2 separate regions of the Homo sapiens genome follow, and region 1 is linked to region 2. Evidence: promoter capture Hi-C in human tissues and cell types (Jung and others, 2019). All regions are on one chromosome and are shown on one strand. Each heading gives the region's core, a stretch centred on a gene start or on the middle of the fragment in contact. The rest is flanking DNA. Distances are from core to core; before and after follow the strand shown.

Region 1 (5,224 bases), core at 2,273-4,772, 130 kb after region 2:
GCATGACTGAGCCAATTGACAAAACTGGAATACAGGTGGTAGTAGGTTAGATCAAAGTACTGAATCAATGTTCTATTAACCGAAGATGGTAACTGTACCATAGTCATGTGGGAGAATGCCCCTATTAAGAAATATATGATATAGGGCAATGGACCATGACAAAGGCAACTTACTCTAAAATTGTTCAGAAAAAAATACATGTGTGTGTGAATGTACATGCATGTACATGCATATATGTCTATATATACATATAAAGAGGGAACGTGCAAATAACGTTAACAGGACAAAATATTAACGGTAGGTGAGTTTGGGTAAAGGGTATGAGAGATCTTTGTATAACTTATTCCTTGAAATCTTTCTATTTGAAATCATTTTGAAATAAACAGTTTTTAAAATACCATCCACTGGCCGGTACCCTCTACCTTGCCCCTGGCTGCTCCCAGCTAGCTAGGCATATGGGAAAGAGAAATGGAGAAAAGGATACAATAGGAAAGAATTATTCTCTCAGGTGCCAGGTTTATTTTCACCACAGTTACACAGCCTAGACATTAAAATGTTTGCATCTACTGGTTGGGCAACAAACCATATCCACTAGGAGCTAAAATACATATATTTTATATACTTATTTATATTCCAGTCAGAAGGCTTAATTAAACAGCCAAAAAAAGTAAATGATAAAAATAGTTATTCTGCAGAAACTGTCTAAAGTAAGTAATACAGCCAAGAGTAGGCTCTGTCTTCACAGTCCCATCTGCTTCCCTTTCCCAGGTACATATCCCAGGAGGATGGATGTTTATATCTGCATGCCTAGTATTAAACTCAAAAGATACTTACTGGGCACATTAACACAAGGCAAGCTACCAAGAAATGCTAAAACACGATCACAGAATCTTAAGACAGAAGTAAACAAACCCCAGAGCACAGCAAGTCCAATCTTGTTCTACAATGAGGAAAATGAAGCTGAGAGAGAGCATCCTCCCAAAGTCAGCTAGCTGTGGGTCAAGTGAAGACAGGGGCAGGCCACCAGAGCTCTTGCCCAGTGACAGCTCCTACACCCCTTGAGGAAGCACAGAGGAGTTCTGCTCCAAGGGTTTTAAGGATGATGAATGAGCTGGCTTTACCTGGCATTGGATGACATCAGGTAATGAATGAGTATGAAACTGACGAACCACTATAAAAGCATGCTGCAAATCTAACATGATGATTAACGCTACTGCTCAGGTGAGTAATTTCATTTCAGCTGCTATTACCACCTGTGCTATTTAAGAGCAAGTCTCTTGTAAAACCACCTTCATCCTGAATTATTCCCAGGTAGACTTGGCATTTTAAATAAGTTAACATAATGGCTGGGCGCGGTGGCTCACGCCTGTAATCCCAGCACTGTGGGAGGCTGAGGCAGGCAGATCACCTGAGGTCAGGAGTTCGAGACCAGCCTGGCCAACATGGTGAAACCCCATCTCTAATAAAAATACAAAAATTAGCCAGGAGTGGTGGTGGCGGACACCTGTAATCCCAGCTACTCAGGAGGCTGAGGCAGGAGAATCACTTGAACCCAGGTGGCAGAGACTGCAGTGAGCAGAGATCGGGCCACTGCACTCCAGCCTGGGTGACAGAGCAAGACTCCGTCTCAAAAAAAAAAAAAAAAAAAAAAGTTATAATATTATTTGACTTTGGTAAAAATCTCTAGACCACATTACTACTGGGAACTGGGGTAGCATAATCATCCCCTCCAGGTTCCACTCGGTTGCTATAAAGTCTCAAGAAACCAAGAGCAAACCAAAGTCTACCATCCTCTTTGTCAATGGCAAAGCTGCAATGCCTCGCCCTTCCCATTTCTAGTTGGCCTTGCCACCCGCCTCCAGACCTAGGGACAAAGAATGGTGCTAGCCACAAAAGGAAGGTAGGACACAGCTAAGGACAGGCTTCTCTTAAGGGTAAGCAGGGGAGAGAGTTCAAGCACAAAGCCAGGCAGTGTTCTGATGCAGTGACCTCACACTGGGTAGATGTGGACCAATGGAGTGAGGCTCTCCCTGGTGTACCAATCAGATAAATCACTCCTATGGAAAGGAAGAAATGAGAGGGTGGAGACAGGACCAGAAGAATGTGCCCCAATACTGCTCCCACCTGGTGTGCAGTCAAAACCCCCCTGAATGTAGGCTAAAGCAAGAATGAGGGGACACAGGAAGGTTACCCTCTACATAAGCAATGAGAAAACTAACAGGTTTGTTTTCTCTAATGGGAAACAGTGCTGCCACTGAGGGGTACAGGGCCAAGCATGGCAGGCAGAGAAAGTACCAGATTAGAGCCAGTCCTGGCTCTACTGAGTCTAGTCTGTGGCACTGTGGGCAAACCCCGCAAGCTCCTGGAGCATTCTTCATCTGTATTGGCTGATACAGTCATCTCTCCCTCACTGTAAGTTCTTCTTACGTAAACTCCATGTGTGGGTCTCCTTTTATAAAGGCAAAGTCCCCCTAAGTTGCCACCAGCTTGTCCCTCTGAATACACCTAGTGCCACCTTTATACTTTTTTAAAATTCATGTTCAGTCACGTTCCTCAAAGGCTCTCAAAATATCACTGCCAATTGCCAAAGGGTCCTTAAGTATCCCTGCAAATATAGATAATGTTGCCGGGGTGGCAGCTGCTGGGGGATCTCTGAGGGCACTGCATTACGCAGGAAGTGTGGGGGCGCTGCACAAGCAGAGATCTGTGTCGGGAGGAAGTGACTCTTCATGGCCAATAGGTTCTCAATGCTCCTCCCATCCCCGCAGATCATTACTAGCCACAAAGGGAGAAGACGCTGCAAAGCAACTCTCTAACCAGGGACTTTCATGTGCCCGGGTTCCACTAATAAACTAAAACTTGTACAATATAAAAAACTATATTGTAATACTGGAACTATACACAGTTCCATCCCTCCACCCCACTGGCGAGGCACTGGATTAGAAAGGCAAAACAGTGGTAGTGGTGACTGTGGTGGCAGTGAGCAGCAAGAAAGCAGATGGCGCCTTTCTGGAGGGAGTCGGTGCACAGGTGAAATGAAACAGGTACTCGGCCAATAACCTTGGCCTTGCTCACATCCCTGGAGAGAGAAGATGATAACTCTACATGGGGTTTTCCATGAGCCTTCAATCCCCGCACAGCAAGCACGCATCACCCGTCCCACGATTCTCAACCAATTTTGCTAGAAGTGACTCAGTCCGTCTCTCAGCTCTGCCCCTTCTACAGGCACCAGCCCAAAGCCAAGACTGACCAGAAATCCAACACCCTTCTTCTTCCTGGGCCCTTCCACCCCCAACAGGTGGCTGGGTACGCTTGTCCTGGGAAGGCCTTAGCATGAACTGAAGGGTGTGGGCTGTGGAATCAGGGCAGGTCGCATCTAATGATGACTTCCTGATTACTTATCTGCTTGCCCCTGAGCAAATTACCTAACCTCTCGGAGCTCAAGTTTCTTCACTTGCAAAATGAACTTTCAACAGTACTCCCCCTCACCAAGTAGCTATGGGAATGACATCAATGGATGTAAATCCCTTAGCACCCTCATCCATAAATGAGCAAAACTATTTCACTAGATATTTCACTGGTGAGTCAATGAGCTTAAAAAAAAAGGAACAAAATAAAAATCCTACATAAAAAATTAGCTAAATGCTCAAAAACATCCCAAGAATGCCAAATGCCTTTTCACTTTCATTTTTATATACAAATCACCTCTCACTGCTGCAAACGAAGAATGTAAGAATGAAAACGTGTCCCACAGGCCTCCATCTGTGTTCAGGACAGTAAGAGTTTGGGACTAGACTCATGATTCTAGCAGCAAACACTTTTTTTCTTTTTAAAGAAAGAAATATTGCATAGAACCCCACCATATAAAGCAGACTAAATGAGAAACTGCTTAATTAATAAGGGTAGAGGAGGGGGTCTCAAATGCCTGTCTGTACTCCCAAACCTAGTGTCTGTGACACCTCCAAGAATCCCTATGGGCCTACAGAGCACCAGAAAAGCCCTGCACTAAAGCCCTTCCCAGCTTTGTGATTCTGGTTCTAACAAGTCTAGAAAGTTTTTCGGGGGTAAAAAAAGATTGCTAAAAAGACTGGTCGTACATTCTCTCTCAAGTATCTTTCACCTGCAAGCCCCATCACCACTGCCGCCCAGGGTCTTTGCTACCTGACCACCAGGGGTGATTAAACCATTTCATCACCTGGCCCTAACCTAGCTGACTTACTGTCCCCACCTCACCATCCACAGCCACCCACCCACCCTCTGCCTCAGCCAAACCCAAACTCACCCTTTTCTCTCCACATAACAGTTCCATGTCTTCACACACACCATTTCCTCTATCTAGAATGCTCCTGACTCCTCGAAAAGGTCCCCAACTCTGTGAAGCCTAATGCAGTTCCCCCTTCCCCACCCTCAGAGCTCCTCACTCCTTGTGGGCTTCAACATGACACCGACCATAATGAACTGAAATTACATCTTTCACTCTCATACAGGGATGGCAAGACAACTGGTGCCACCTCAGTGGGGGCCAAGACAAGTCAGCAATATTTATCAAATTTCAAACACAAAGACAACCTCACCCAGCAATACACTTTTGGTGATTTTTCCTCCAAAGCTTAGGTGTAAAGGATCTTCATGTCAATGCCGTTTGTAAAACAAAAGAATGGGGACAACTTAAATTTCCATCAAGGCAGGATTGGTTAAATAAGGTACATCCACACTGTAGAACACCTACTAACTATGAAAAATAGTGAATAAGCTCTATACATATATGTATATGGAACCATGAAAACTACTCACCTAAAAACACATTTCCCCACACCCAAGGATCCCAGTCAAACATGGCCAGGCGTGGTGGCTCACACCTGTAATCCCAGCACTTTGAGAGGCTGAGGCGGGCGGACCACTTGAGGTCAGGAGTTAGAGACCAGCCTGGTCAACATGGTGAAACCTCGTCTTTACTAAAAATACAAAAATTAGCCAGGTGTGGTGGCGTGAGCCTGTAGTACCAGCTACTCGGGAGGTTGAGGCAGAAGAATTGCTTGAATCCAGGAGGCGGAGGTTGCAGTGAGCAGAGATCACGCCACTGCACTCCATCCTGGGTGACAGAGAGAGACTCGTCTCAAAAAGAAAAAGAAAGAGAGAAAATGTCAAACACTGAGAAAGAGATGCCTGGGGATCCTCTCTGCTTGTCCTTGTCATCCCAAATACCACTCTTGCTCTTAAGCAA
Region 2 (4,925 bases), core at 2,403-4,902:
TCTCCTGGTTGGTGTTCGCATTTGGATGCACGTGAAACACACAGAAGGAAAGAAAGCTTTGCTGTAGTTTGATGGAAGGGAGGGAAGTTTAGCCTTGATGTATAGGGGTGGGGGAGGCGAGATTTTGTTCAGGGGGCTATTGGGATGTTTTTTTCCTCTTCGAGTAAAAAAATAAAATAGTCACAGAACCCAGAGGAAAGGTTGTCATGGCAACAAAAGTTTGAGGCCAGGTACTTGCTATCACCCTTTCAGGACCACCGTGGTGGAGAAGGCAGGATTTTGGCACTGTAGGATCAGCTGCAGAAACCACCCCAGCTGGCTCCGATTCCCAAATTTCTCACCAGCACTGACAAGCTGATAACTATTTTCCAAGCTCTCAGAGAGGAAAATTGTGATTTTGGGGGAGGGATGATCTCCAGCCCACAGTGGCCAAGAGGAAACTGGGGGTTTCTTTTATTTATGCAACAAACTAACCATCCGCATTTCTAACTGAGTTTTGGGAGTGAGGGTCTTAACTGAGTCCCCCAAAATGCCAACTTCCCTGACCCCTCAACTGTACTATTCTCTTCCGCGATCCCTTCACTCTGATTTCTTTCTGTTCCCGAGAAGGTAATTCCAGCTCCCTTGCCAGAATCCCCTGTGAGCCTAAGTTCCTCATCTGAAAAAGCAAGTACCCTAGAAGTGTCTGCCTCAAAGGTGGCGGCCAGGATTCAACAAGATTCAGGAGATGAGAAGTTTCAGCAGGACCTGGTGAACGTTAAAGGCTCAATAAATGTTAGCCAACATTGTTTTTTAAATAATTTTCAATTAATAATTTTTTAAAATACTTAAATATCCCAAGTCAAGCCCTGAAAGAACTACAGGGAAATAATTGTAGCAAGTACTGGGACCGTGACCTTCAGGGAGCAGCCAACAGAGACTCCAAACAATTAAGAGGCTCAGCTGAGCAGCTTGGACCAGGACACTCCACAGAGGTAGAGACAGGACCACTCCGGTGCCAGAGATGCCTCATTGTATTTTCAGGTGTGTGCACAGAGGAAGGGAGGCAGAGGTGGTATCTCCCCAGGGCTGGGTCTCCTGAGCCTTGGAAACACCTTCTTGAACTTGGAGAAAGATGTACAGTAGCAAGATGTCTACCTCCAAGGACGAAGATGTTCCTGACAACAAGGTGTTACGAGGCCTCCGTGTGAGAGATTAGGGTTGGGCTGTGCGGAAGGCAGGGAATTTTGGCCAAGATGCCTTTTGAAGTTAATAATTTTAATTGCATCCCACAGTAAACATTTGAGTGTTGAGTGTAAACCAGAAGTGGGTCTGATGGGATGAAACCAATCAGGGGCAGGTCCATATTCAAACACCATGTATCTCTGACAAACGGCCAGCCTGGCTCAAGTCACAGAAAAGTTTGGTCAGCCACCCCCAGAAGAGAGACAGAGGAGGCAGCACCGCAGGAAGCCTCCGGTTCATCATCCCAACCCCATCCAGTATGCACCCGGCAAATGTTTATTGAAGACCTACTATGCGCTAGACATTACTGGGAGGCAGCAGTGAACAAGACCAACCGGGCTGGCCCTCACAGAGTGACATCCTATGGGGAGTGGGGACTATAAGCTAGTGACCAAAAACAGGCCCCAGAAAATGTCAGGGAGTGCCAAGTGTGGCAGGGAGATAAACGCAGTGGTGAGATCCAAAGATGGAGACCCTCCCTCCAACGGGGAGCTCACAAGGTTGTCCCTCCTCAGTATCCTGACATGGAAGGCAGGTGGGAGAGTCCCAGTGAAAGGAGCCCCTGAAGAAGGAGGTGGGGCGGGGAAGGGCATTCCAGACAGAGGATGCAGCCTGTGCAGAGGCCTGGAGCTTTTCACTGGGTTCGCTTCACAGCTTCCTCCCTCTGCCCTCTAAACCACTTAGGCCACTGGCTTATTTAGGGCAAACTAAGGGTGGAGGTCTGCTGTAACCCACCCTTGAGCACACACATATGTGTGGTGTCCACACTGAGGAGCTAGGCATGCAGGGAGGAGTTTTAACCTTGGAGAAAGAGGTCAATTCACTCAGGAGGGTGTCCATGCCTGGACACCCGCTCAGAGATACCACGTCTTTCGGGCCAGCTCTACCTGCTGTGTGGCACAACCAGCTGTCCGGCAGCTGTCCCCTGGGCCCTGCCACAGCCCGGCTGTCTGCCTCCAAAACACGCACTCCAGCCCAGGCTGCCTCTGGAGGGTAGAGGAGGGGGTCCAGGCAAAGGGGACAGTCTGATCTGCCTTCTGAAAAGTCAGTCCCCCACCGAACCTAATAGGAGCCTTGTGCTAAGCTAAGCCCTCCTGGACTCCTCGACCCGGAGTTTGCCCAGCTGTCCCCAGTTCCCTAGCCTGCCTCTCCCAGGAGGGGGCCAGGATACAGAGGGCTCCCTGGCGTCTGGCAATAGGGGTGCCTCTGGGCGGGTGCGGCTTTCCGGGAGCCCGCGGGACTCCCCCACTCCCCACTCCCGTCTGGGAGGTTCGGCGTGGGTTGGCGATGGGGGTGGAAGGCTCCCGGGTCTGTGGATCTGCGGCAGGAGGGGCGGCTGGTAGCAGGAGTCCCTGCATCACCCCCACCCCCAGGGGCGTTCCGGGGTGGGTGGGGGCATCTAGTGCCCCGCGAAAGGAAGAGGAGGAGGGGGCGAGCGTGGAGATGAGTTCAGGAGCGGAAAGCAGCGCGCGCCCCTCCGACCGGCAGCGGGGGTGGGCGCCTTCCCGGGGCGCGGGAGCGTCCCCAAAGCCGCGGGGCGTCCGCAGCGGGTAGGAGCTCTGCCTTGCACCTCTCCACGGCGGGGCGTCCCGCACGTCCCCCCATGCTGGTCCCCGGCCCCGGAACGGCGCGCGCCCCCTGCCCCGGAACGTCGCCCCTAGCCAGGCGGAGCGCTGGGAGCTGGGCCCAGGCGGCGGGAGGAGGGCGAACGGGTCCGGGGCTCGGGCCTCGATGGCCGCGCCGCCCCGGGGGAGCCGGAGCCGAGCTGGCCGCCGCCCGCGCGCACTCACCAAGCCCGCTGAGCTCCTCCTCGCACGAGTACCAGATGCCGGTGTGGAAATTCCTGAAGAGGAAGCGGTCGTCGCCGGTCTCCCAGCTGTAGAGCGCGCCGCCAGGGGGGCCGTTCCCCGAGGCGGTGGCGGCGGCGGCGGCGGCGGCGGGGGCGGCGGTGCCGTTGGCCGTGGCGTTGGCGCCCGAGTTGGGGCAGTTGGCGCGCCCGCCCTGGCCGCAGCCCGGCTTGGGGACCCGCTGCGTGCCCTGGCACCAGTGCGTGGTGAGGAAAGCGGTGGTGGCGAACAGCAGCGCCAGCAGGTTCAGGGCCACGGCCAGGAGCGCTCGGCCGCGGCGGCTAGTCTTCATGCCGCCCGCGCCGCCGGGACGGGACTGCACCGCCGGGGAGCTCCGCGCGCGAAGTTGGCAGCTGGCGCCCCGCGTCAGCGGCCGCTGCCCGCCGCGCCCCGGGGCTCGGGTGCCTGAGATCGGCGGCGGCGGACGCGGCGCGGGCCCATGCCCCCCCCAACCCCGGGGTGGGGGCGCGGCGCGGGGGGCGTGCGGGGCGGGCTGGCGGGGCGGGCGGCGGTGGAGGAGCGGCTACGGCGCGCCCGGAGCCCGGAGCGCGAGTGCACCTCGGCTAGGAGCCGCTGGCGCCTGGCAGCGGCCACGGCGCAGGGACGCGCGCCCCTCCGTGGGGAGACACCTGCAGGCGGCCGGCGACACTGTTCCGGAGCCCGCCCGCACGGGGAGAGGGGGCCGCCACGCCGGGCGCGGGCGGGGGCCTGGGAGTGGAGGGACGCCCCCGAAAGAAATCCGAGCCAGGGTGAGGGTCTGAGACGCAAGGAGAATCCCAGGCAAGGCGCTCCTGAGAAAAGATCCCCACGGCGGACGTGGGGCAACAAAACCCGCCGGGAGCGGGCATCTCATGAGACCCAGAGAGGCCCTGCCCCAGGAGACAAGGGCAGAGCCTGCTGGGGCTCCCCAAGAGGGACACGGACCAGCAGGACCCTGTCCCAGAAGGGGATCCCCAAAAGGACCCCCGCACCAGACCCTGAGAAAGGAGTTTTTCCAAAGGTTCTAAACAGCAGAGCCTGCAGGGCTTCCCACAGCCAGGGAGCTGCAAGACCCCCTGGATAAGACAACCCATGCTGGACTTGGAGTGGCAGAATCTGTCAGGAGGCGCCCCTCCTGGAGTATTGGGTTATAGGGTTTGAAACGTTTTTCTGTCTCCTGGGTGTCACCTCCAGCATCTGGGAAGAGCTCCCCTCCAAGGATGAAACTGTCATCTGGGCTCCCAACCATGGCATGCAACTGCAGGAAGAGTGGCAACAGGGTACCCCAGACAGCCCACTGCACCCACCTGAGATCCCAAACAGCAGAACCCTAGGAGGGCCCATGCCGGCCACAAAGTTATTGCAGCTACCAGGCAGTGGTGCCCTACAGGGGCTGCCAACCCTGCTCACATGCACACCATGTGAATGTGGGTAGAATCTTCAAGATTCGGGTGGGGGCAGGGTGGCCAAACATACTGACTTTGGGATCAAGCATATCTAGGGCTTGACCAGCTGTGTGGCTTTGAACAGGTCACTTACCCTCTCTGAGCCTCAATTTCCATAACTATAAAAAAGGGAGGACCCCCCCCCCTTCAAGGTATATCACAGTGGGCTGCTGTAATGAGATCATGGCTGCAAAAAGCATTTGGCACACAGTAGACTCAATTAATAATTCACTGTTACTGACATCTGAACCAAGATCAGTTGACCAAACTCAGACAAACCTCTTCAGGCTCTCCTGTGCAACGTGGAAACTGTGTGCAACCCCGTCCCCACCTCTGCTCTAAGATGACCACGCTCCCTGAACTCCCTTCGCGCTGCACAGCACTTACTGCCCAGATGCTCAGGGCGTGCAACAATTAATTGCATGTTGAT

The links. Contacts are between HindIII fragments. The study calls those that stand out against the background at their distance.
Region 1: a fragment that was not itself captured here is called in contact with the fragment with the promoter of GSG1L in region 2 in 1 of the 25 tissues and cell types used here (aorta).

The regions. Positions count from the first base shown.
Region 1 is chr16:28,190,634-28,195,857 of GRCh38, forward strand. All of the region lies in intron 1 of XPO6 (exportin 6), which reads right to left. Among named protein-coding and RNA genes, the nearest start is that of XPO6, 19 kb to the right of the region's middle. RefSeq lists a silencer at 1,490-1,662 and an enhancer at 2,917-3,146. The HindIII fragment of the contact is 4,311 bases long and covers 1,368-5,224 here.
Region 2 is chr16:28,060,062-28,064,986 of GRCh38, forward strand. It overlaps GSG1L (GSG1 like), which reads right to left and starts at 3,653. Exons shown (of 7, transcript NM_001109763.2): 1 at 3,015-3,653. The coding sequence starts at 3,363. The HindIII fragment of the contact is 12,466 bases long and covers 1-4,925 here.